5 separate regions of the Homo sapiens genome follow, and regions 1, 3, 4 and 5 are each linked to region 2. Evidence: promoter capture Hi-C in 16 types of primary human blood cells and fetal thymus (Javierre and others, 2016). All regions are on one chromosome and are shown on one strand. The core of a region is centred on a gene start or on the middle of the fragment in contact, and the rest is flanking DNA. Distances in the headings are between cores, read along the strand shown. Region 1 overlaps FIGLA (folliculogenesis specific bHLH transcription factor). Region 2 holds the start of ATP6V1B1-AS1 (ATP6V1B1 antisense RNA 1). Region 3 overlaps ADD2 (adducin 2). Region 4 overlaps ADD2 (adducin 2). Region 5 overlaps ADD2 (adducin 2).

The links. The method cuts DNA at HindIII sites, captures the fragments that hold promoters and counts their contacts. A CHiCAGO score of 5 or more calls a contact.
Region 1: a fragment that was not itself captured here is called in contact with the fragment with the promoter of ATP6V1B1-AS1 in region 2 in 5 of 17 cell types (M2 macrophages, M0 macrophages, M1 macrophages and 2 more); the score reaches 13.8 in M2 macrophages.
Region 3: a fragment that was not itself captured here is called in contact with the fragment with the promoter of ATP6V1B1-AS1 in region 2 in 1 of 17 cell types (M1 macrophages); the score reaches 5.8 in M1 macrophages.
Region 4: a fragment that was not itself captured here is called in contact with the fragment with the promoter of ATP6V1B1-AS1 in region 2 in 1 of 17 cell types (M2 macrophages); the score reaches 5.5 in M2 macrophages.
Region 5: a contact is called between a fragment that was not itself captured here and the fragment with the promoter of ATP6V1B1-AS1 in region 2, in 2 of 17 cell types (M2 macrophages and M1 macrophages). The highest score is 6.4, in M2 macrophages.

The regions. Positions count from the first base shown.
Region 1 is chr2:70,775,611-70,780,919 of GRCh38, forward strand. FIGLA (folliculogenesis specific bHLH transcription factor) reads right to left here. Exons shown (of 5, transcript NM_001004311.3): 4 at 2,027-2,061; 5 at 1,700-1,772. The coding sequence ends at 1,757. Among named protein-coding and RNA genes, the nearest start is that of ADD2, 10 kb to the left of the region's middle. The HindIII fragment of the contact is 3,173 bases long and covers 1-2,866 here.
Region 2 is chr2:70,946,320-70,951,737 of GRCh38, forward strand. It overlaps ATP6V1B1-AS1 (ATP6V1B1 antisense RNA 1), which reads right to left and starts at 2,292. Exons shown (of 2, transcript NR_110274.1): 1 at 1,908-2,292. The region is part of intron 2 of ATP6V1B1 (ATPase H+ transporting V1 subunit B1); the gene reads left to right. The HindIII fragment of the contact is 10,354 bases long and covers 1-5,418 here.
Region 3 is chr2:70,737,692-70,743,446 of GRCh38, forward strand. The region is part of intron 1 of ADD2 (adducin 2); the gene reads right to left. Among named protein-coding and RNA genes, the nearest start is that of ADD2, 28 kb to the right of the region's middle. The HindIII fragment of the contact is 703 bases long and covers 3,787-4,489 here.
Region 4 is chr2:70,691,977-70,697,186 of GRCh38, forward strand. ADD2 (adducin 2) reads right to left here. Exons shown (of 16, transcript NM_001617.4): 5 at 4,269-4,420; 6 at 3,745-3,825; 7 at 427-576. Among named protein-coding and RNA genes, the nearest start is that of ADD2, 74 kb to the right of the region's middle. The HindIII fragment of the contact is 1,888 bases long and covers 2,818-4,705 here.
Region 5 is chr2:70,756,776-70,762,389 of GRCh38, forward strand. All of the region lies in intron 1 of ADD2 (adducin 2), which reads right to left. Among named protein-coding and RNA genes, the nearest start is that of ADD2, 8.6 kb to the right of the region's middle. The HindIII fragment of the contact is 2,998 bases long and covers 2,468-5,465 here.

The sequences.
Region 1 (5,309 bases), core at 30-2,529, 170 kb before region 2:
GTGTGTGTGTGTATGTTTTGGAGGAGGGGGCACAGGCAGGAGAAGAGCTGAGTTCCTCCTCAGTTTCCGAGGGAAGGTCACCCTGCCAAGCCACAAGGATGACACTGCATCAAAGCAAAGAGGATTTATTCTTGAGGCTTAAGATATAATGGAATTTGCCTCAATAGGTTTTGGACTTGCTTGGGACCCATTAACACTTTGTTTCCTATTTTTCCTTTTTGGAATAGGAATGTCAATCCTACACCTGTCTCACCATTGTGCTTGGGACGCACATAACTTGTCTGGTTTCAGAGGTTCACAGCTGGAGAAAGATAGGAATCATAGCTCAAGTCTCACCCATACCTGATTTAGAAGATATTTAAATGAGACTTTGTACTTTAAAGTGAGAATGAGTTTAGATTCTGGGGGCTGCTGGGGTGGAATGCATATATTTTGCATGTGATAAAATGAATTTGGGGGAAGGGCTAGGGACAGAATGCTATGAACAGCATATGTTCACCCAAAATTCATATATTGAGAGCCTAACCCCCAATAAGGCTGTATTTGGAGACAGGGTCTCTAGGAGATATTAAGATTACATGAAGTCATCAGGATGGAGCCCTAATCCAATAGGATTGGTGCCCTTATAAGAAGAAGGGAAACCAAAGCTAGCTATCTCTCTGCCATATGAGGACACAGTGACAAGGCAGTCATCTGCAAGCCAGGAAGAAAGCCCTCATCAGAAACTGAACAATGCCAGACCATAATCTTGGACTTTCCAGCCTCTAGAACTATAAGAAATAAATCTCCGTTGTTAAGCCACCCAGTCTATGGTATTTGTTAAGGCAGGCTAAGCTAATTATACTTTCTGTACCTTGGTTTTCCCATCTGTGAAATGGGGATACTTATGCCATTATCTTACGCTTGTTGTAAGAACAAGTTAACACATGGAAAGCATAGAGAACAGAATCCAGCATATAATAAGTACTATGTCTTTGTGAGCAATGGTTATAAAGACGAAGTCTTTGTGCTCAAGGTGTTTGGCTGTCTACCTTGCACAAAAGGTGCCATTTGGCCTTAGCTGGGTATCTAGAAACCCTTGAAAACTCTCACTCCCCTTGGCCAATGTTTACAACTCTTTTAGCTTAAGTCTTCATTTCTATTAAGGTTAATTTCTATTGGAAGGGTAACAGTCACTTATTTCTCAAAGCAATGAAAAAAAGATGTAGGTCCCCAGAGGATGACAGTGAGTTGGAAGCAAAGGATGAAGCCCCTGAAGCCTATTTCTTCAAAGCATGAAGTTAAGGAGAAGGCAGAGTGGAGTAAACTTGAGAGAGGCAAGGCTATTTAAAAGGGTAATTGTTAAACTCGGAATTACTACAAAACTTCTTTTTTAAAAAAGAGACTCCCACGGGGCACAGTGGCTCATTCCTGTAATCCCAGCACTTTGGGAGGCTGAGGTGGTTGAATCACCTGAGGTCGGGAGTTCGAGACCAGCCTGACCAACGTGGAGAAGCCCTGTCTCTACTAAAAATACAAAAATTAGCTGGGCGTGGTGGCGCATGCCTGTAATCCCAGCTACTCAGGAGGCTGAGGCAGGAGAATCACTTGAACCCAGGAGGCGGAGGTTGCAGTGAGCCGAGATCACACCGTGCCACTCCAGCCTGGGTGATAAGAGTGAAACTCTATCTCAAAAAAAAAAAAAAAAGAGAGACTCCAAAACTTTCAAGACTGCATTTATTTGTCTCTAGAAGGTAACCCTGGGCCTTTTCATTTTTCATACTTGTGGAAGTCTGAAACAGAGAAAACATTCCATTATAAATAGTTAAAAATAAGAACCGTTTACAAAAGAAATAAAGAAATATGCAAAAAATTAATTTTATTAGTAATCAAAGATGTTTAAATTTAAAGATACTACTTTTTTACCCATTAAGATTCCTTCTTTTAATAGAGCTCATTGCTAAGAATGTGATGGAATTAGCACTCTTATTATACAGCCAGTGGTGTTATAAATTGGCACTATGCATCAGGTTATAGAATGACCTACCTGTGACTCAGCAGTTCTACTTCTGGGAATCTATCCTGCAAAAACAATACAAAATACAGAAAGGGCTAAACACATCGGTTATTTGTCACGTTTAAGAGAACAAAAAACTGAGAACATAGTGGCCAACAGTAAAAAAATTGTCCCACCTAATGGGTCACATAAACATGCCAGTGATAGAAAAATCAAGAACAGGCACACAATGTTATGTACCTGATGATAATTTTTTATTTTAGTTGCAAAGGAAAAGAAATGGGAAGGATTTTAGTGTATTTCCATCAGTGGTTTTACTAACGTGGCAAGATCATTTTGTCTCTGCTCAATTTTCTGAAACTCTCAACTTGAAGAAAAAATAAACCCATGACTGAAAAATAAAGCCGCTCAAGTCATGGTCAGGCATTTTGGATACTGAAACCTATTATGTACATCACTGTGGATGGTAAAGCACCGCAATCAAATGCTTTAACTTAGCCTTAAACATTTATCTATTTTCTAGTCCACCCTCCTTTACATTTCAAAGTTGAGTTTTGTTAGAACGAAAGTGGTTAAAAAGGACTTAACACTATCACCCACATCCCCCCCAACCCCAACACTTCACTGACTTGCAGGTATTGGGCAAGTTACTTCTGTTCCTTAGTTTCCTCACATGTAAAATGGATATAATTGTTTGTATAGCACAGGGTGGTTGTGAAAATTAAATAGGTTAATATGTATACACTGCCAGGAGCAGTCTCTGACACAAAATATGTATGAGTAGCTTTTTTTTTCTAATCTTGATCGAGTCTTTCCACTATACAAGTGATCAACATTTCTTTCTTTTTATAGTTCAGACCTAGCTTTGGAAGCTTTATTTTTAAAATAAATTTTAATTTTTTTCATATTTAGAATTTTTTATACTTGAGACAAATTCATATAAATTTACCTGAAGGATTAAAGGATGACAATATTCTGCCTATAGTCTACTGCATTTTAGAACATTTATTTTAGTTTGTTTTTAAGAATTAGCTGGAAAATTTCAGAAACGTAATATTTAAGTATGAGAATAGAAAAACTTGCCAAAGTTTATAAATGTTGTCTTTATTGTCACAGCTCATTAAAAATTGGCTGTTGGTCTCATCTAAGCCAAAGAGTTTAAGGTCCAAGAAGAGGGTAGTCTGGAGAATAGAAACCCAGTTTGCTGCTTAATATCTTTAAGAAGGCAGGCACACTCCAATTGTTGGCAGTGTGGCTGCAGAATTTGACGTATTATCCAATGTACATTCCTCCACCCACTGAGCCAGGCTTGGTGAGGGAGATGGGGTAAACAGAAATCCTTGCTCACTCAGCTTTAGAGTTCAGTCCCTGTTCCTATGATAATCTGAAAAGCAAGGCTCTTTCCAAAATCCCAGAGAACCACAAGCATAGGCACCATCACAGCACCAGCCCCTAAATCCCCAAAGTATAGAGAGCACAGTAAAATCCCAGGGCTATAAATGCAGTCGCCGGAGCAGCTTTTCCTCTGAGCCACTGTGCCTTTAGACCAGGGCAGAAAATCCCAACACCTTACCAGGTGAAATATGCTACTCTGGTGCAGGAAGGAGTGGGGAGGACTGGGACAAACCAGAAGGCACCCACCCCATTAAATGGGAAACAACTTTGGAAAATGCTGGGCTGACTAATCTCATCAGAATATGCCCCATGGGCTATTGGTGAACCCCAGGGCAGATGACTGTGCTTCTCAAGCAAAGCGAGACCCATCACTTACTGTGGTAGAAGTTTTACCATCGTATAGAGCCACTACCTGGGGGAATGTGAGGTGGAAGACAGAAGAAAGAGGCTTCAGGTCTTTCCCAAGGTGCTAATGAATTCATCCCAACTAGCCAAACCGTCTCATTTCAGAGCTTAAAATGCTATAGGAAGAAATGTCCCCAGTGAGTAATTTCACAGATTACCGCAACTTGGAACAGGGGTGGTAGGAGTCTACCATCCACACAGGATTCTTTCTCTCAGAAACTCTTTCAAGGAACATTCCCATGACATGCCAGAGTTTGGAAATATATACTGGCAGCATACCAAGGCCCCTGTAACAGATACTATGTCTCTCCATATGTCCCTTTCCAAAGGCCCTCAAGCCCCAGCACTCTTGGCATCTCACTCCAAAATTGAGGGTGGTCTTTGTCTAGAGACATGGTCTCTACAGTGTCACTGGCAACTCTGAACAAAATTTAGAGCCATGCATAATATGAAATGCCAGAACCATAACCACGAGTGGCAAATAGAAGGAATATACAATGGCAAGACAGCGAACAGCCTGCCATCTAGCAATGCCAACCCCAATATGGCAAAAACCTACACTTTGAAGCTCTAATTTTAAACAGGCCTCTCCTGGACCTTGAAATTAATTTTTCTCCCTACCAACACCACATGCTGTGGCTTCTCATGGCTCACGGCCCTCTCTGTCTGCACGAATACTTGCCAATTCATTCCCCGAGTGAACTTCTGGGGCTCTGGCCCCAGACGTTAATCTCCATCCCTGTCATCAGCAGATTCTCATGCACTTCATTTGGGACTTTGCCTCCCAGGAATGTTGTTGATCTTGCACAGCCTGCTCTGACCCCATCTCCAAATCCCCCAAAACGCCCATCCCTGCCACTACCAGGATTTCATTCCCTGGGTCCTCATCAAGGGTAGGGAAAAGGGTGCCACTCCTGCAAACTGAAGCTGGAGAGGGCCTGCCTCCCAAATCTTAAGCTCCTCTGGATATGAGCATTTCTGTCCAATGAGTCACATTATCTGTCACTAGGTCTCTAGTCTGGACAGGATCCTGAAACCTTATGGAGTCACCGCTTCAGGAAAGCTGGGCTGAATCTTTACGAGGATCCTTTTGTCAAATAAAGGTCAGCCTGAGCATCACTTCCTTGGACCCTTTTTATCTTGAGCCCACCCTGGTTCCTGATTGTAAAATGCAAGCTTTTTATACAGTTAATAAAGGTGATATTGAATAATCGCTCAACTCACATATAATTAAAGATCTCAGAGATAAATGTTAACAAAGAGAAAACTAGCCAGAAAGACGGCTGCACAGTAGGTACTTCAAAGAAAATGCGAGTTCTTCTCCCTCCTAAACAATTCAGTACTAATGTCATCAGTTGGGTCACAGTTAGGTAGTGAGAAGCCACAGTGACCCAAGTGAAGTGGTATCAGAGCCCAAGCAGGGTGAGATGGCACCCACATACAGAGGCAGCCCAGCGCAGGATATCAGAGATCCAGCAGATGAGGGGCATATTCACATGGGGGGTGTGGTCCA
Region 2 (5,418 bases), core at 1,042-3,541:
GCTGAGTAGTTAAGTGCAGCACACTGGGTTTGGATTTTAATCCCAGATCCATCCCACTCTTTTCTGCTAGCTACATGCCAACCCTAGATCAACAGCATTAGCACTGCCCAGGAACGTGTTAGAAATACAAATTCTTGGGCTCCACCTCAGACTGACAGAATCAGAAGCTCTGGGGGTAGGGCCCAGAAGTCTGTCCTCACAAGCCTTCCAGGTGAACTGATGCTCAAGTTAGAGAACCATCAATCTCGGATTGTAAATCCCAGTTTCCTCATCTATTAAATAATAATAGGATTATTGTGAGGTTCACATCAGACAAATGTAGTATTATTCTCCCTTGAGAATAGCCAGCAATGTTTCTGCCTGGAATGCAGAAATGCTAATAAGCCTGATTCAACAGTTGGTGCCACCTCCTGCCCCCTCTCCACCTCCACCACACTCTCCACCAGACCTGCCATTCTCCATGGGACCCAGTGTGGCATGGAGTCGGAACCTATACAGGTGTCCATTTTCTCCACTGTAAAATGAGGCCGATCTAGGAAACCAGAACTAGGTCCCCAGACCTGTGGTTTTGCGACTATCGGATGCATCTGTAGCTTTGGCAGAGAAAAATAATTGGGTGGTGGAGGCACCTCTCCCCATCCCTCTCCGTTGCCCCTACCCCTTTCCCTCTACCAGGATTTGGCAAATGCTACAATTCTGTTTCTACAGCGCCACCTTCTGCCCACATTGAATCACACAGGCAATTACTCTTCCTGCTTCCGTCCTCAAATGTAAGAACATTTGAGGGAAGAATTTTGTGTAGATCAGAGGTTCTTAGCCCAAGGAATTAGGCCCTTGAAATTGTGTGCAGACCTTTGAAGGTATGCATGAATGTGCCTGTGCATTTTTCTGGTAGGAGTTTCTACAGTTTCGTCTGATTTTTCAGGGTTCGTGACCCAGAAAAGTCTAACTCTCTGATTTGTATAAGTTGAACAAGCATCAGAATATCAGGGGTGCAGGGGGCTTGTTAACAGGCAGATTGCTAGGCCCCACCCCAGAGCTCTGATTCAGCATGCCTGGGGTAGGAGGCCCAAGAATGTACATTTCTATCAAGTTCCTAGGTGATGCTGCTGGTATGGGGACCACACGGAGAACCTCTGTTCTAGAGAATCTTCTGACTCCTGTAGTCTGTGATTCAAATTGGTCCCTGTTTGAGAATTGGAGTAAGCACTCACCTTAACCACCAGACTCCATCCCCAATGTCTGTGGCTGCTTTCAAAAGAGTCTGCATCAGCTCTGAAGACAATTTCCAAAGAGGAGCCTCCGCACTGCCCTGGCCATTGTCAGCAGGAGGGACCTTAGAGGCAGCATTCCTGTGCACAAATCCCGACAGGCTTGCTAAGAACTTCCAGTCCTCCGTGTGTAGACAGCAGCTCCCCTGTGCCTGGCCACTTGCTGGTTGAGAGCTCAGTTGAATCTCCAGCACGGGGTTACATTGCACTGAGTCATGCCCTCTTCCTGCAGCCCTCTTAGTAACCGACATCAACCGAGTTGATGGGATCAGGCCTGCTCAGTATGCGGCTGGGAAATAGGGCCCCTTAAGATACAAGCTCCTGGACTAGCTATCCCCCACGGGAATTCTCCCAGGTACCCACTGCCATAACTGGTCATGAGATCCCACCACCAACAACAATAACGACGAACATCCAGCACACACTTAGAGCCTGGGGCTCTTCCTAAAGGTTCCAGACACTACACCCTCCATGCCTGAGTGTGAAAACCTGATGGCCCTTCCCCAGATCTGACCACAATTTCTGCCATTTAAAGTTCATTTTCTCTGATTTTGTCCTTCAGGGACACAGAACGCACCACTCTCCTCTCCACTCTCCTCTCCTGCCACCCTCCCTCTCTCACCCACATAAACTCACATGAAAATGATCACTTTTTTTTTTTCTTTTTGAGACGGAGTCTTGCTCTGTCGCCAGGCTGAAGTGCAATGGCACGATCTCTGCTCACTGCATCCTTCTTCTCCCGGGTTCAAGCGATTTTCCTGCCTCAGCCTCCCGAGTAGCTAGGACTACAGAAAATGATCACTTTTAAATCACTCCACCGCCTGATTTCTTTGGGGCACACTCTGGCCTGTGTTCTGTACAGCAACTTTTCCCCTGAGGTTGAAACAGCCCTCCGTCACCTCCAGGGAGATGACAAATAATGAGGCAGGGCCCGTTTCGTATCGAAACACAGGTTATCAGAGTGGGAGAGGAAAACGAGCCGGGACGTGTGTTCCACGCGTTTCCCAGGCCCTCGCTGTCCGTGCTCCTGGGCTCCCTCTTGTGGTTGAGAACCCAAGACGCCTGGGTGTTCGGAGCTCCTCCCACCTCGGAGCCCTCCTCCCCGGCCGGCCTAGTGCTGAAGCCCCCACTCCGCAAGGCTGAGGGGTGGTTTGGGGAACCACAGGTCACCTTCCTGGCATCCTCTTCACAGGACAAGGGAGGACTCAAGGTAGCGCTCCCTTCCGTGTGATTGTCAGGGCTGCAAACCTAGTCTCAAGTTCGACCAGCAGGGGTTCCCTGGCGGAGTGGTCCCTACTTGGTCACACCTTGCTGGGGAATTGGACCCTCCGCCCCAACCCGCAAGCCCTTAAGGTCACTAGTTTGTGGCCAGTAGGTGATATAACGATAGTAATGATGATGATAATCACCAGCACTGTGCTGTAACATGTCCTAAAAATGTATTATATTTTAATTGCAAAAATAATACATGCTCCTTGTAACTTAGTGAAAAAGAGGAAAGACACGTAAAGTTAACTATCTGCCCCTAACCGCTTTATTCTCAGCCCCGAAAGACCCTGCTGAATACGCTCAAACACAGGCAAATATGTTAGAGGTTGACCTCGGGGTCAGTCCCTTGAGAGCCAAGGGACTGACAGTGGATCCACTGACAGTGTCAGCGGATACACATTTTACGCATTCTTTTGGATACTGGCATAGCAGGCGATAGTATGGATGTACTGTAACTTACTCAATAGTCCCATTATTGACAGACATTCGTATGTTCTCAGGTTTTGCCATTACAAATAGTACAATATTGTATCCCTTTTAAACGGACGCTTTTGTGGTTATAGGATAGATTCCCAGAAGTGGAATTGCTGGTTCAAGTACTTTTTTATTTCAAATTAGATATTGACAATTTGGGGCAAGATGGCTTGCCCAGAAGGGTTGTGGTAATTCACATTTCCACCAACCAGGTATGAGAGGACCCACTTCCCCACATCCTTGCTGGCCCTGAATATGTTCTCTCTGTAGTTTTACCTATCTAATAAATGAAAACTAGTACTGTCTCGCTTTTATTTACATTTCTCTGATAACTAGGAAAGTTGAGTGTCTGTCCATATGTTTACCATTTTGATTTTGCTTCCTTCTCCGTGAAATCTTCCTACCAAGCAAGTTGTGCATACGGGAGCTCCTTGTTTATTGCTCACAGGCTATCTTTTGCAACAATAAATGAAACAAAGATTTCATCTATTGTGTCTCTGCCATACAGAAGTTTGAAATACTCATATGATCAAATATTTTTTGTTTATACCTTCTGAATTTCTTGTCTTGCTTAAAGACATTGCTCATCTGTCTTTTAATTGGATTATTCAGAAAGATAGGAAAGAAGAAAAGCTCTTCCAGTATTTTTTAAAAATTGTTTTTACTTTATATTTAAATTTTTTTTACATGCCTGGAATGTATTTGGGTTTATGATGTGGTTATCTTCTAACTAGATATCCTCTTATGTTCTATATATTATTTCCCCTCTGAGAATTAATTAATATACAACATTTGTTCTATAATAGTCCTATAAAATCTGGGATCTCCTTCTGGACTTTTTTTCTTTCCTACTGATCCATTTGTCTACCTCATATCAATTTACTGCTTGACTTCAGTAGCTTTATAACAAGTTTTAATATCTGAAAAGGCAAGTCCTCTATCTCTGATCTTTTTCATAACTACTTTGGCTATTCTCAGACATTTATGTGAACTTTAAAATAATTTTATTAAATTTTAAAATAAACAATAATCCATTAGGGTTGGATCAAATTTATATACTTTTCAAAAGGATTAATGTTTTTATGCTAGTAACTAAGAACATTAAGACAATAATGTTCTTCATTGTTTAGGACTTGTTTTATGTTATTCCATAATTTTTTTTTGTACCTTTCTTGTTATATTTATTTCTAGCTATTTTATGAGTTTTGGCCCTATTGCAGATGGGATGGTTTTCTCCGTTGCCTCTTCTAACTGGTTACTACTAAAATAGAAAAAAAAGGAGGGGGGGAATGATTTTTAAATATTTATCTTATAAACAGCCAAATTATCTTATTCATTCTAAAACCTTCTTTCTAAACCAGAACCTCTTGAGTCTTTCTAAATGTATAATATAATCTGCAAATAAAGGGAATTATGTCTCTTTTTCCGTCAGTATACTTTTACTTTACTTTTTATTTTGAAACAATTTCAATTTTATAAAAATTTGCAAAGATAAAAATAGTAGTAGGAACATCCATGTCACCAACGGTTAATATATTATCTCATTTGCTCTATCATTTGCTCTCCATGTGTGACTGTGTGTGCATAATTTTTTCCTGATTTTTTTTTTTTTTTTTTTTTTTTTTTGAGACGGAGTTTCACTCTTGTTGCCCAGGCTGGAGTGCAGTGGCAAAATCTTGGCTCACTGCAACCTCCAGCTCCCCGGTTCAAGCGATTCTTCTGCCTCAGCCTCCCGAGAAGCTGAGATTACAGGCGCCCTCTACCACGCCTGGCTAATTTTTGTATTTTTAGTAGAGACAGGGTTTCACCATTTTGACCAGGCTGGTCTCGAACTTCTGACCTCAGGTGATCTGCCCGCCTCGGCCTCCCAAAGTGCAGGGATTACAGGCATGATCCACTGCGCCCGGCCTTCCTGAATCTTTTGAGGGTACGCTAAGCTCAAGTACTTCAGTGTATATTTCCTAAGAATTAAGATATTCTTTTATATAACTACAGTAGAGCTATCAACTTCTGAAATTTATACTGATACAATACTTTAATCTACCATCCACATTCCAATTTATCAGTTTACCTGATATCGGGTAAGCTGATAAATTGGAATGTAGCATTTTTTTTTTCACTCCAGTATAGGATCCAGTCTAGGGTCAGGTATTGCATTTGTCATGTCTGTCTAGCTTCCTATAATCTGGAACATTTTCCCACAGCCCTTCTTTGACTTCCCACAGCCTTTCTTTGACATTTTTGAAGAATACAGTCACCTTCAACCACCACCTTTAAAAAAATAGAACACTCGGCCAGGCGCGGTGGCTCATGCCTGTAATCCCAGCACTTCAGGACGCCGAGGCAGGCAGGTCAGGAGTTCGAGACCAGCCTGACCAACATGGAGAAACCCCATCTCTACTAA
Region 3 (5,755 bases), core at 2,888-5,387, 210 kb before region 2:
TGTGCACATGTACCCTAGAACTTAAAGTATAATAAAAATAAATAAATTTAAAAAAGAGGCTTGATACTGTTTTGAAACATTCAATTCATCCAAGTCCCCCTGTTCTGATTCCATCTCCCAAAAAATTCTTCTGATTGTGATTCAGCTTCTCACATTCACATGAGGCCAAAGGAGCACAAGTCATGGGTAAAACACTACAGCCTGCCCCTGATCTTCACTACCACTCTTTAGAGTGGAAATTACTATCCCCCTTTTATAGAAAAGGAAACTGAGACCCAGTGAGTTTCAGCAACTTGCTCAGGAGCACACAGCCAATAAGTGGCAGAGCTGAACAATGGATCTGGGTTCATCTGATTTCAAAGCCCAGTACACCATGAGGCCTCGTGTTGTTTCTGCAGCTTGTTTAATTCTTAAAATAAATTAAACACTACTTGGGAGACATATCTATAAACAAAACAAAAATCCAATAAGGGAAGAACAGGATGTTCAAATGATTATAAATATCCTAAGAAATTCCAGTTCAGGATGCTGTCTGGCTAGTGATCCATGAGTCAACCTCACCTAACTTTTCACTAAAAACCAACGTCAATTCACACACAAAATTAGATCATAACACATAAGAACTTCAAAAATGAAGACTGACAATTAGCCTAGGGCCAGAATGATGAATGATCATTTACTCATCGAGATCTATGAGACTGAAAAGAGAAGCATGAAGAGGGATTCATATAGGCACTTGTCTTTGCTACTTGGAGGAGAGAAAGCTAATCAGCTGAAAGATAAAGCTTTATTCCACCCTCACTGCCTGCCTGCCTCCTAGCTCAGGGTCTGTACCCTCCAGAAAAGTGAGCAACCTTCCCACTGTGATATGGAAGCTACTCCTTGAGAGGCCACAGCCATTTCACACCTGTATTGCCTCATGCTTCATCTGTACCAGGACCGCAGTGCTGGTCATGCAACATGGCCAGGGACAGATGTGGATTCCAATGCTGTATTGCAGCCAGAGATTTGAAGACACACATAAAAAGTGCCTGTGACAGGATGGGTGTGGGAGTCAGACAAAATCCACCTCTAGGCTACTTGTAAAGAGATGTATCTATGATCAAGTCATAAAATATTACTTAAAATAATTAGCTGAGCCATAAGCAGAAGATTGAAACTGGACCCCTTCCTTACACCATATACAAAAATCAACTCAAGATGCATTAAAGACTTAAATGTAAAACCCAAAACTATTAAAAAACCCTCGAAGACAACCTAGGTAATACCATTCTGGACATAGGAATGGGCAAAGATTTCATGACAAAGATGCCAAGAGCAATTGCAACAAAAGCAAAAATTGACAAATGGGATCTAAGTAAACTTAAGAGCTTCTGCACAGCCAAAGAAACTATTAGGAGAGTAAACAGACAACCTACAGAATGGGCAGAAATATTTGCAAACAGTGTATCTGACAAAGGTGTAATATCCAGCATCTATAAGGAACTTAAACAAATTTACAGGAAAAAAACCCCATTAAAAGGTGGGCAAAGGACATGAAGACACTTTTAAAAAGACGACATACATGTGGCCAACAAGCATATGAAAAAAAGCTCAATATCACTGATAATTAGAGGGCTGCAAATCAAAACCACAATGAGATACCATCTCACACCAGGTCAGAATGGTTATTATTAAAAAGTCAAAAATTACAGATACTGGCAAGGTTGCAGAGAAAAGAAAACACTTATACAGTGTTGGTGGAAGTGTAAATTTGTCCAACCGTTGTGGAAAGCAGTGTGGTGATTCCTCAAAGAGCTAAAAGCAGAACTACCATTTGACCCAGCAATCTTATTACTGTTATGTACCCAAAGGAATATAAATCATTCTACCATGAAGACACATGCACACATATGTTCATTGCAGCACTTTTCACAATAGCAAAGACCTAAATGCCCATCAATGGCAGACTGGACAAAGAAAATGTGGCATATATACACCATGGAATACTATGTAGCCATGAAAAAGAATGAGATCACATCCTTCGCAGGCACATGGGTGAAGCTGGAGGCCATTATCCTTAGCAAACTAACACAGGAACAGAAAACCAAATACTGCATGTTCTCACTTATAAGTGGGAGCTACAGGATGAGAACACATGGACACAAAGAAAGGAACAGCAAACACTGGGGCCTACTTGAGGGTGGAGAGTGGGAGAAGGGAGAGATCAGAAAAAATAACTACTGCATACTAGGCCTAGTACCTGCATGGTGGAATAATCTGCACAATAAATCCCCGTGACACAAGTTTACCTACGTCACAAACCTGCACATGTACCCCTGAACCTAAAATAAAAGTTAAAAAACTAAAATAGATAATAAAATAATTAGATCAATAAATATGCACCAGGAAAAAATAAACAAACTATGGCTTATGATATTTATATCAGAGACAATAAAAGTTAAGGTTAAAAGCTCTAAGTGATTCAAAATATTTTTATATTTGAAAAAAGTAAACCCCATAATGAAAGTATCCTATTGAACAATTATGTACTAAATAACATAGCACTGGACTATATATGTAAAGCAAAAACTGTTGAGAATCAGTAAGAAAATAACAGGATCATAATAATAATGGATTACTTTAATATGCTTTTCAGTCCTTGACAAAGAGGCTTAAAAAAGAGGATAGGAGAATACAAGAAACCTGAATCGGTTGACTAATTAGACTTAAAGGTATCCCTCCTCACTATCCACAATCTCACAATACAAACAGAAACCTAATAGATTTGGGTGGCAAAAATTACATTATAGTAAGCAATTTCACTGCAAGCATGCAGAGCAGAGTAAAATGCTGGTTAAAAACAAAACACCTCAGCTAACAATTTCTTCATTCTAGGAGAAGCATCATTTATCCTCAGGGAGATGGCAGAGTTTTTGTTGTCTTGTTTTTTGTGGGGATTTTTTTGTTTGTTTGTTTGCTTTTTGTTGTTTTTGTGTGTGTGTCTAAGAAATTTTTTATTTTTATTTTTATTTATTTATTTTTTTGAGACAGGGTCTCACTCTGTTACCCAGGCTGGAGTACACTGGCACAATCACAGCTCACTGCAACCTCCGCCTCCCGGCTTCAAGTGATTCTCCCACCCCAACCTCCCGAGTAGCTGAGCGTACAGGCGTGTGCCACTATGCCTGGCTAATTTTTATATTTTTAGTAGAGACGGGGTTTCACCATGTTGGCCAGGCTGGTCTCAAACTCCTGGCCTCAAGTGATCCACCTGCCTTCGCCTCCCAGAGTGCTGGGATTATAGGCATGAGCCACCGTGCCCGGCCTTGGTCTAAGAAATTTTTTGATGGGTCCTTTAAAATGTGAAAAGTGAGTTCCTGCTCCTTTGTCAAATTTCACAAATCTTGATGTGGGAGAGGATGATTTAAAAAAAGAAATGATAAATTGCCCTGCAGAGAAAGTTACCAAATATCAGCAGTGGGAAAATAATGGGAGACGGAAAGAGAGTCAGGAGCATCAAGACAAGAACACGGCAAAGAACAGTAGCTTATAGAAAGAAACAGCCAGTGAGAAACTCCCTGTAACAGTGAATGATCAATAAATTTTGAGAATTACTGACATCTGACATTGAATTTAAAAGTTGTTTACAGCCTTACACTATAATTACCTTCTGATATGCCCAATCCTTTGATTAAGAGTCTGATGTGCAGAAGAGCTTCGTGTTAGTGGTGCTCTGGGAGAATAAAGGAGAAAGGACAGTGAGAGCAAATGTATTAACGAAGAGGGCAGCTCCTTTGGGAGGCAAGCTTTTAAGTGTGATGGATGCTATTGTTCACCAGTATATGTTTCCTCTCTACTTTGGCGTACAGGAGAAGATGACATTTCCCCACCACATTCCAGGTCAGCATTCCCATACGTATTTTTCTAGTCAATAAAATATGAACAAACGTTCTTCTGGGAAGAAGCATGTTAAAGCCTTCCTCCTGCTGCAGTCACCAGCAATTTCCAGATGATGACAACTCCATCAGCTAAATCTCTGAGTAAGGAAGACATGGGACAGGACCCACACACACACTGAAACTCAATGGACATGCAACAGGAGCAAGAGATAAATTTCTGTTGTGTTCAGCCACTGAAATCATATGGTGTCTTGGTACTGCAGTATAGGTTGGCCTGTTGTGATCAGCAGCCTCGGTCACAATACCAGCTCCTCCCCCACACATCCCACCCAGCTGTGGGCTCCCAGGCAAATCCATTAACCAATTTTGACATTTCTCTAATCAATAATAAAATGAAGATGTTGGACTGGATTTGAAGTTTTCAAACTGTGTTCCAAGAACCTGGAAGTTTCCAAGAGGTACATCAGGGATTCTACAAGCATTTGATCCAATCTGTTTTAACTATTTAAAAGGCCATTATATACTACACCTTTAATATTCCTAATTCAAATACATCTGAGACTACCAATACCTTGTGCTAATTCTTCTTTTCCTTGACGTCAGAATAAAGCTTCCCTGCCTATGCAGATTTAAGAACTACCCAAAACATGTTTTTGGTTAAGAAAGTGCTATTTCTGAGCTAGTTATTTTTTAGAGAGTAAAACCCATTTGTGTCTGCTCACATGAAAATGTATAATCAAGTACATTACCAGAGAAAATATTCACTGGGCCCAGTGACACACCAGAAACAGCTCAGCTACATCTGCTTGGAATCAGCTCTTGACAAGGCAGAACTAAGTTGTAGGTGTTCTTAGCTAACTTTTAATATTTATACATATTATTTATTTTAGATGAAGTGAAATCATTTCCCTTAAAAAAAGAAATGGACTGCTGGTTGAAGAACAGGAATTCTAAAAGAAAATATGACGATATCTGCAATCAAAGTGATGGAGCTCAAGGTGAAACATCAAGTCAGGCTCAACTGGTACCTATTGATTCTTCAACTCTTGTTGCCTATAGAACAACAGTGAATGAAATAAGAGGAATGCCGCAAAGAAAACAAAGTACTGTAGCCATTATCTGTCTTTGGGGCTGACCTTTTAGGGCAATACAATCCACTCAAGTCCTTGATGTGCTCTGTATGTATAAATCTGGCAAAAGAGTTCTATGTTCCCTGCCATAGAACACCATTTGAACAGCACCTAGGGAGCCTACAAATGAGGTCCCTGGCTATACTTACATACATCTTAATGTTATGTTTTTTTAAGTTATGTGATATTTAAGTTTGTCAATGTATGTTTAACTTTGCCCATGAGGGAAAAATATACACTCTCTTTGAAAATCTTATTAAATCCTATCCTATGGATCCTATGTTACAGATGTGTTAAGTGAGAATCTTGCTTCAAAAATATTAGTACTGCTGTTGCATAGCACAGTCCACTCAAGAATCCAAGACTGTATTTAATGAATTAGCTAAGGAGGTCAAAATTATCACAGCAAAGTCACATCTTATGATAGACTGGTCAGCGTCCATAGCCTGTCAGTACGGTCAATATTGGCTGGAGTCAAAATTATCATTGAACATCTCCTCAGTGGACATGAGGAATAGGGCATGGCTCTCCATGTATCACCCCACACAGTACTGTGCATGTGTAATTGGATAATACATACAGTAGCATATGACTCATAAAAGGACATGTGCAAAATATAATTTGGTTGTATTTTTACTCCACTTCTCTGAGAGCTGGATTACCATGAAAGAAATGTGAGCATAAGGCACCTCTGGTCGAAAGGAAAAGTTCAGCATTTCACAGAGGAAGAGGCAGCGTCTTATG
Region 4 (5,210 bases), core at 2,512-5,011, 250 kb before region 2:
TTTCCCAGTTTTGCTTGCTCCGTCCCCTACTCTCAGCCTACCCTGAGCTATGGGAAAACGGGCACAGTCCAGGTTCCCACTAACTGGTTGTCCTCTGTCAAGATATCTCCTTGCCAGAGCCTGGCTTCGTGGGGGCAGGCCCCACGCCTTGGTCCAACAGGACTGACCTGAGTAGAAACTTAGCAGGTACTGCTTGTGTATGCAGTATGTGGGGGATGCGATGGAACAGACATTCCATGTCTTCACGTTATGCTATGACTTCAGTAGTCAGAAAGATGGAGAGGCTGGGCGTTTCCACGTTGGGAGTTCTCTCGCTTCACCTTGGCCTGAGTTCTAGATCTTTCCAGACTGTTTTAAGTGACGAGATTGCTACAACCTCGGCAGCCTTACGTCTTTCCTTGGGTGGCTGAGAAGGAGTCCACTCACCGCTGCTGTGGCCGGTGTGTGCAGGTGGATGATGCAGCGCACGTCGGGCCTCGCTGCATAGATGGCCGAGTGCAGACAGAAGCCTGTGGTGTCCACTGGGAAGCAGCTGCTGCCCTTCTCCACCACCTCTCCCAGAATGTTCACCTTGATCTGCGCCAGGGAAGAAGAGAGACTTATGGCAACAGGGTGGCCGAGGCCCCGCACTCCTCTCCCAGCTGGTGGGCCCAGCATGTGCCGCCCACCTGTCTTCACACATTCCAGACACCATGAGCAATGACGGACTTGGTGTTGGAAGAAAACAAACCAGTTCCTGCCCTCAGTGAGTGCACAGTCTAACGGGACACAGACGATTATAATTCAGCAGGAGAAATGCGAGAGCAGAGTTTCTCAGACTTTGTTCACGTGAATCACCTGAAGCCCAGTCAAATGCAGGTTCTGATTCAGAGGCTGAGGGGGCCCTGAGAGCCTGCATTTCTAACAAGTTCTCAAGTGATCCACAGACCACACATGGGGTAGCAAAGTGCTAGAAAAGAGTCATGCACAGAATTCTCTAGACAGAGACAGGGGGAGTCTTTCATCCCATCAGAAAAGGAGCATCTGAGAGGCCTTCCAGGGGGAGTAATGTCTACACTGAGCCCTTTCTCAACGAGGCTCAAAGAGGCTGCGGCTGCTTTACCAGTGACAGCTCTAGCCTCACTCCGTGCCCCTACTCCCCTGCCTCCTGGATAAAAAGTAGTAAAATATTCAATCACAGAATGTCCTGTGTCCTGAAAGCCCACAATCCAAGGTAAACAGAACTCTCTCTCAAATCACTCAGCACAAATCCAAATCCTGAAGCCAGCCCCTCCCAGTACGCTCTCACTGAACACCTCCCCGATTTCCCGGAGTGCAATCTCCCGGCAGCTGGAAGTTAACCTAACTTCACTGACTGCAGTTGTTCCCTGGACATTAACAAGCCAGATGATAGTCTCTAAAACTCATGACAACTTTAGCCCTTAAAACTGAGACACCCGTGACATCCTGAATGTGGCACACAGGGCAGTTCCTCAACTTGCCCATCACCCCCACCCCAGAAAGTCCAGGCAGACAAGATGGGTATCAAAGCAGGGAGACAGACTCTAATGTGGGCGGAGGGATGTGCTGCTGGCGTTTGCTTACACAGAAGCATCAGGAAGATGTTCAACAAATCTCCACTTACAATATCCTATTTTAAGTGAATTTCACAGACTTCAAAGCAGCGTGACCCCTAAAAGCTGCAGCAACTCTCCCGCCTCAGGTACTTTAAACCCAAGTGTGGAGTGCTGCCCTCTGGTTTCCCTCAGCCCAGCTCCCCCACTTCCTCAGACATGTGGCCTGTTTAGAATTCCCTCTCTCAGATGATCTCTCTCTGATCTTACATATTTTATATCTCATTGTTGGATGTGTGATCTGTTGTCATTCAAGAACCTCCACAGCCTAATACAGCAGCCACCCTCCCATACGGTGCCTTTGTACAAATGAGAAAGCAGGTACCCCCTCTTGAGGACAGCCCAGGGACATAGGGCTTGGTGTGTGGGTATTGCCTTTGTGCAAATTCAAAACAGAAGCCCAATGCTAGGACACTTAGTGAGTGGAGCACAGGTTGGATTTCACCCTCTCTTCTCTTCCTCATTAGCCAGGCTCCCTTGTGCAGTGCACAAACTGCACAACCACACACAGCAGCCCTATGTCTACACACAATTCATAAACATCTCATGCCCATGACTCAAACCTGTATCTCTAGCCTGCATCTCTTCTGAACCTAGAATAACCAAATGCCAACTGACATCTCTTGAAAGTCCCACCAGCTTCTCAAACTCAATCCCATATTCCCAATCCAACTGATCAGCAGGCCTACTAAGCATAGAGGCCCGGAATTTCCTTCCCAGCTTGCTGTAATAACCCCACCTAGGTGTCGGTTGGCCTCTACACAGCTTTCAGAGTGATCTTTCTACAACAGAAATCTGCTTGCATTACTCCCCTGCTCGCATTTCAGTGGCTCTGAGTGTCCAGCAGAATAAAGCCAAAGCACCATAACAGGATCTTCCATGCCATTTATCACCTGGACCCGATCCCCTTCCCAAGGTCACCTCCAGATACTGAATACTTGAGCCAGACTTGGCCTGTCTTCCCAAATGCATGCACAGGGCTCTGGTATGCATCTGGGTTTGATGCATGCTGCACTCCTGCTAAGGACACAGTCACCTCTGCCAAACCTCTCCTTGCCACCATGATCTAAGTCTGCTTACCCCGCTGGTTCATATCCCACTGACTCCACTCCTGCACCATGGTTTCAGCTAGACGCCTCCTCCCTCATTCCCTCTTTCTCCTACAGCTCCTGGCGGGGTAGGGTGCCCCTTTCCAGGCTCCCCAAGCTTCCTTCACCTCTACTGGAACACTCGGTAACCCTGAGCTTTCATAGCTGATTACCTCGCCTCTCTCCTCCAACCAGACCATGAACACCTTACGGACAGAGCCTGTGTCATCCTTTTCTCTGTGGTCCCAACTCTGACTTGGCCATCATCTCCTTGGGTAGCCTTGTGCAAGCTGCTTACCCTCCCTGGGCACCAGTTTCCTTTCTTACCTCTCAAGTGGCCTTGGCCATGGTAGAAGTCCTGCCCTGCCTAGATATTCTATGACTTGCTGAGCCTGGACTTTTGAGTGAGTAGCCGCGCTCTACACCTGAGCATGTCTCAAGCCTGGCAGAAGCCCCCAAGGTAGTGTCCTCCTCTCCGAGGTACATGGCATAGCAGCCACAGCCCATGTATCTGAGAAGGATTGGGCCTTTTCTGCTTCTAAGACAGTCCTTTCTACTGCTTTCCTCCCCCCATCTGGAAATATTTCCTGAACTAAAGCAACTTTTGCAAGCCTCTACCTCATCTAAAAGGAGCAACACTGAAAAGGGACCCAGAAGCATCTCTAATGGTGCCAGTGCTGGACAAATCTCGTGCTGCTTTGGGTCTTATTCTAATGTATCCCCCTAACCAGAAAGGCCCCCCATTCCCAACCATTGTGGTCTAATCCCAGGTGTAGCCATCCCATGAGTCTGCTGAGAGGATGCCAGGCCCATCTCCACTCCCTCCTCCCTCCCACTGCACTTGCCACCTCCTCCTGGCAATTGGTCTCTTGGTCGCATCATGCTCTGGACACTTAGTTTGTTCCATGTGTCTTCTCTGCCCTATCAGATTGTGAGCTCCACAGCGCAACAGTGACCAATTTGGAGATGACCTAGCACTGTGGGAACAGAGAGAGTGCTGTCATTTCAATAAGGAGTGGGCAGTGATGCTGGACTGTACTCACCAGGCTGGACGCTGTGACTTCACTGCAAGAAACTCCCTTAGGGCTGATCAGGAAGTGGTCCTGCTCCTTGCTGACTCTCAACTGGAGGAAAGACACAAGTTCTCAGGGGCAAGGAGGGAGAAAGGACATTTCCAAGGACACTGTGCTTGAATCCCCTCTTCCCCTGAATCTACTGCACCCAAGTCCATCTCTAATGAACCCTTATCTCTCCCCCCCAGCCATAAGAGATAAAAAGAACTCAGCTTTTATTTGGAGCAGGAGAAAGGGAGCTACAAAAGGAAACTCACTATGATCAAGGGTAGCTCTAGGATAGGATCCAGGAGTTCCTTCCCATCCAAAAAAGTGCCCACTGGGCAGGATGCCTTATCAATGACCACAGTGGTTAAAAAACTTGGAAGGGTTCAGTGCATTTTAGCCAAAGGTCACCAGCAGTGCCATGGCCATGCCAAGGGTCAGGAGTTCTCCCTTTGGGTTTTGTGGGACCACATGCAGTGCCCCACCCAATTCCAGGGCGTTCTGCTCACCGTGACATAGGTGTCACTCAGCTGGGCCCAGCCATAGAGGTCCAGGAGTCGGTAGACACTGCTGATCTTGCACCGCATGAGCCGCTCCCCTTTGGCCAGGTTCAGGGAGTCAGCTGTGTGGAGGTCATTGATAGGCGTCATCATGGAGACATCTGCAGGGACAGTGCAGTTCTCTCAGGGCCAGGGCCCATCTGCCCTCCCCTTCCTTGCTCCAGTGTTCTCCAAATTCTCACTGGCACTAAAACTGCACAGGAGACTTCCCCAGGCAGGGAATTAAACATTCTTTGACCCTTACCTGGGGCAGGAGTCCACAGAATCGACGTCTGTGCCCAATAAAGTCTGCTCATTCAGATAAACTTTTGCTCAAAAATCATGGCAAGTCTCAAGGCCACAGAATGAAGGGTTCTGGGAATGCCACACAGGTTCTGGGAATGCCAAGCTTACCATAAACTCTGAAGATGGGCACTGAATCAAAGCAAGAATAAACCTCTGAGTGGAAACATGGGTATATTTCATCAGTTATTATTAATGAAGAAGTTACTCGTCATTAAACCAGCTATTACATTGTTTTAACGACACCATGTAATCACATTTTCTGTGATTTAGAAACAGGGAAAATAGAAAGCCAGATCAGAGCTGGGTGCGGTGGCTCACACCTGTAATCCCAGCATTTTGGGAGGTCGAGGCGGGCGGATCACAAGGTCGAGAGATCAAGACCATCCTGGCCAACACAGTGAAACCCCGTCTCTACTAAAAATACAAAAATTAGCTGGGTGTGGTGGCACGCGCCTGTAATACCAGCTACTCAGGAGGCTGAGGCAGGAGAATCGTTTGAACCTGGGAGGTGGAGGTTGCAGTGCACCACTGCACGCCAGCCTGGGGACAGAGCGAGACTCCGTCCCCCACACCCTCCCAAAAAAAGAAAGCCAGATCAGCCTGAAA
Region 5 (5,614 bases), core at 2,717-5,216, 190 kb before region 2:
GAGGTGAAGAGATGGAGTTGTAGTGCAAGTAAGCTTCAACCTTGAGGGTTTTTTGTTTGTTTTTCCTTTTGAAACAGAGTTTAGCTCTTGTTGCCCAGGCTGGAGTGCAATGGTGTGATCTCGGCTCACTGCAAACTCTGCCTCCCAGGTTCACGCGATTCTCCTGCCTCAGCCTCCCAAGCAGCTGGGATTACAGGCATGCCCCACCACACCTGGCTAATTTTGTACTTTCAGTAGAGACAGGGTTTCACCAAGTTGGTCAGGCTGATCTTGAACTCCTGACCTCAAGTGATCCATCTGCCTCGGCCTCCCAAAGTGCTGGGATTACAGGGATAAGCCACCGTGCCCGGCTGGTTCAACCTTAATTTTTATGGCAGAAAGTCACTAGACAATGATCACAGTTGATACATTCAGAAACAGCAGTACATGCATATTATTTTGGGATACAGAGGTATCTACAGCAGAACAAAAAAACACAGCTAAAATTGGTTTGCCTGTGGATAAGGGATTTGTGGGGGGGGGGGATTTGTACAGGGATTGTTGCCTTTTATTAGAAGCCCTTCAGTCCTATTTGATTCATTAAGTATGAACAAGTGTTGCCTTAAAAACTAAAAGTTTGGGGACAGGAGACGAATAAAGAAAAATAATGATATATTTTATGAAATAAGAGAGAGGAAGTCTCACACACAGTATGGTGGGAATGAGTGTGGAATGGTTAAGCTGGATACTGCATAACTATGGTAACAGACGTAGCTAATTTAAGACACAAATGAGGGTGTTGGAAAGATTTAAGAGAAATATGGTGTTAAGAGGGAAGGAGAATAAATTCTAAAAAAAGGGATGCTGAGATAATCAGTATGGATGCTCTGCCATCTGACATGAGGAAAGCAGGAAAGAATCAAACCCGCCCTCACTTTTCCTGTCCTGTCTTTTCACGGTAGATTTTTGAAAGTAAACCCCTAGATATTCTTATGGAGACTCCATGCCGAGTAAAGAAAGCAAACATGATAAAATTCATACTCAATAAAATAACACAAGCAGAAAATCACATCCATTGTTAAATGAAATTGTTTCATAAAGCCTCCATGCATTTCAAAGTTTAATAACTTCATTTGTTCTTTGAGAAAAACAATTTAAAAATAACATTCAAATGCCCTTGTATTGATTTTCCCTTCAATAAAATGATTCACAATCAAGCACAAACATTTAACGACCCTTTCAAAATTCCACAGAAAATTACCGAAGGAACGTAAAAATAGGAACAAATCTCCATCACTTCTGGTTACCAGGGAGGCTGCCATTCACGCGGCAGGAACTGTGAGGGATCGACATCTTTATAACATCGGTTCTTCCCATCTGGGAACATGACATTCTGTTTCTTGAGTAAATATTGGTAATGCATATTTTCAGTGGAAATAGTCCATTTCATCAAGATTTTCACAGATGATGGGATACAATAATGCACAATGTTCTTGAGATTTTACATCTTTTCTCCATGCTGCTCCATATGTCATTTCTAGCTTTGTGAATTTTTTTGCCTTTGTATCTTAATTAGGCTTTCTGGAAGTTTGCCTATTTTATTGGCTTTCTAAAAGAACTAACTGGCTGGATAAAAGGTGGGGAGAGGGCATATAAGGAGGTGGAAAGAGTTGTTTTGGAAGGGTTGGGAGGGTGGGAAAGCATGTTCAGAAAAATGGAGTAGTTCAGCCTACCTAGAGGGTAGAGCGTAAAGGAAAAAGAGGAAAAGCAGTTGAGGCAGGTAAGGAGCTTGGGCTTTATCCGGAGGGTAGAGAAATGATGAGATTAGATTTTTGTTTTAAAAAGATCAACTATGCAACATAGTGAGACCTCGTCTCTACCAGAATTTTAAAAAAAATAAGCCAGGCATGTTGGCATACACTGTACTCCCAGCTACTTGGGAGGTTGAGATGGGAGGATTGCTTGAGCCCAGGAGGTTAAGGCTGCAGTGAGCCATGATTGCACTGCTGCACTCCAGCCTGGGCAACAGAGCGAGACCTTGTCTCAGAAAAACAATAATAATAAACTATGGATGGAGGAAGACTGGGCTGGAAGCAGGGAAGAAGGTGGGGGGACTCTAAAGTAATCCAGAGTTTCAGCCAGGGGCAGTGTGGCCATATGAAACAGGAACCCAAGCAAAGTAGCCCAGGCAGAATGGAAGGCAACATCGACATGGAAACCAAAGTCTAGCCTGGACTCATGGAAACTACTAGAATTGTCATCAATTCAGGGAGCCATGGGGATGGGGTGAAGGATGTCAAATGGTCCTTAGAGCTGCTACTGATAGAAGCCACAGGGATTTACTACTTGGCTTAGAAAGTTTTTTTCAGCCACTTCACAGCTGGAAAAAAGGCACAGAGAAAACCATTCCAGGCATTAAATGGAGCACTGAAATTTGTATTCAGGTACCTAGATCCTAAGCTCCCTGGCCTCCAGATCCTGCCCTGGAAGCTTGCAGGATGAGGCCCTATGTTAGATCAAATACATTACAGGTATTTACTGCTGGGTGGAATAGCGTTTATTTACATACTTTTGTATCTTTATTTTTAGCTGCATCTGGTGAAGTGATCAGAATCAACCTTGTTTGAAGCTGGATATATTAAATCCCCACTTTACTGGGAGCTCCCTCAGCACATGTCTGAGGAACTGAGGGTGCTGTGGTTTGGATATTTGATCCCTCCAAAGCCCATGTTGAAGGAGGGGGTACCTGGTGGGAGGTGTTTGGGTCATGGTGGTGGATCCCTCATGAATGGCTTGGAGCCATTCTTGCAGTAGTGAGTGAGTTCTCACTCTTTTCATTCCCATGACAGCTGGTTGTTAAGAAGAGCCTGGCATCTCCTCCCCTCTCTCTTGCTTCCTCTCTTGCCATGTGATCTCTGCACACGCCAGCTCCCCTTTGCTTTCTGTCAGGAGTGGAAGTGGCCTGAGGCTTCCACAAGCTGCCCAGTCTTCCAGCCAGTAGAATCATGAGAAAAGTAAACCTTTTCTCTATAAATTACCCAGCCTTGGATATTCCTTCATAGCAACACAGGCAGACTAAGATGGGGATCTGCCACTCAAGGTGGCAGTGCTGATAGATTTCCCACGGCCCTTAGATTTATATCCCTCATCCCCACCCCACTGACCATACCACAGCCCATCTAGCCCTGTTTCATTGAGCCTGGGGATACTAGCACTCAGCTGAGAGGACACCACTGCTTCTTCCCAGGAAAGCCCCTTGTTGATACTCATGGGCTGGGTGATATTGGCTGGCACCATCTGTACTCTAACTTTTACAGAGTCCTTAAAGAATCTAGGCCCAGTGTTTGTTCTCTTCTCTAAAACTCAAATCGATGTTTTCCTTACTATATTTGTCTTTGGACACTTTGAAGAAAAGAAAGGCAAATATTTAGGTCCATGGTGCCATCTTGAAACCTACACGTGCGTGTTTATAACCCTGAACCTGCAACTCAGATCTCGGGTCCCAGCCATGACACATGCATACGTCTGCCTCTCTGCTGGCCATCCCCACCTCAAACTCGTCTTGTCTAAAACTGACCACTGTCTTACACAAACCACTTCCTTCTTGGCTGTGCTGGATTCCCCAATTTAGAGCACCAAGCAAAGTAGGGCTCCAAATATTCTTGGAATAAATTTGATATATATTTTTTGAAGCATCAAAGTAGTCACCATGGAGATGTTATAACAATGAATAAGATACAAATGGTACAGTTCTAATTTTTTAAAGTTTCAGAGAAACAAGTCTGATGTACTTTGTTTGAGGATGCAAATTTAGATTATAAAATTATAAAAGCAAGCAAGAAAATGGTTACCATAAAAGGAAGGTGAGTTGTTACCTCCAGGGGGAAGCAGGGTGTGGTTCAAGGGTGCACTGGGCTCTGGGAGCTGGCTGTGTCCTGCTTCTTGACCTGCATGGTGGTCACACGGGCATTCACTTTATAATATTTCACTAAACTGCACATTTGTTTCATGTCCTTTCCTATATCTGTGTTATGTTTTATATATTTTAAGGTTTTTTTAAATAAAGTAGTCATTACAAGGGAAAGAAACAAAACTTTTGTGGACTTTCATAGTTATTTTGATAAAGTTGGCCACAACTTATCTTCCATCATACAAAATGCCAGAAGACAAAAGAATAATATTTGGAGTTTTTAGGTAAAAAGATTAAGATGAAGAAGTGTATGCCCCAAAAGGATGATGTTACTGTGAAACAGCAACATAAAGAAGTTCTTAGGCAAGCAAGAACTACCGGAATATACTATCTTTCCTGAAAAAGATTCCAACTAATCAAGGAATAAGTAAAAATGAAGATTGAGCATAGGAAATGGACTGAGTATTGTAACCTATGTAACTCTCAGTCTAGATAGCAGCTGTTAGTATGGTTAGGAAACATAAATGTCAAAAATAATTCTGGAAAGCAAAAGCATGCATTACTTTTTTTTTTTTTTAAAGACAATAATCTGGATCTAAAAGCCAAAATGTTTTTAAGGCAAAAAGTTAGTGGGGGTAGATGGGCAACAAAAAAGAAATTAAAGCTGGGCACAGTGGCTTACACCTGTAATCCCAGCACTTTGGGAGGCCGAGGTGGGTGGATCACCTGAGATCAGGAGTTTGAGACCTGCCTGGCCAACATGGTGAAACCTGGTCTCTACTAAAAATACAAAATTAGCCGGGCGTGGTGGCAGGTGCCTGTAATCCCAGCTACTCAGGAGGCTGAGGCACAAGAATCACTTGAACCCAGGAGACAGAGGTTGCAGTGAGATGAGATTGTACCACTGCACTCCAGCCTGGGTGACAGAAAAAAAAAAAAAAAAAAGGAAGGAAGGAAGGAATTAAAGTATACTAAATCTCTCATTATTTATGAAAGAACAAATAGACACAACTTTTTTTTTTTTTGAGACAGAGTATCGTTCTGTTGCTCAGGCTGGAGTGCAGTGGTGCAATCTCGGCTCACTGCAAGCTCTGCCTCCCGGGTTCATGCCATTCTCCTGCCTCAGCCTCCCGAGTAGCTGGGACTACAGGTGCCCGCCACCACGCCTGGCTAATTTTTTGTATTTTTAGTACAGACGGGGTTTCACCATATTAGCCAGGATGGCCGATCTCCTGACCTCACGATCTACCCGCCCTGGCCTCCTGAAGTGCTGGGATTACAGGCGTGAGCCACCGCGCCTGGCCAACACAACTATATTTTTTAATGTTAATGAAGACTAGTAGAAAAAAATGGGCAGAAAATTTCCCTTTTATCTAAAGAACAAGGGACTCTTACACTACATTTAAGTTAAGAAAGGGGGTGGAAAAATAGCTTGGAATTTTTTTAATGTAAAATAAAATTTTAGAAGATCTGTGACTGTATCACATATAATAAATGTAAATTGAGTCACAATTGGATTAAAAATCCAATTATGATGCTTAAAATAGACAAAAATCAAAATGACGTAAAAGAAGAAAGCTTAAGAAGAAAGAGAATGAGCATCACACCAGGGAAATGGAAACAGAAAGAAGGCAGGACCAGATTTCTTATCACACAGTAAAATTTAAGACAAAAATAAAAATACAATGAGACAAAGCAGGTCTGGAAATATGGAAGATTCACCCC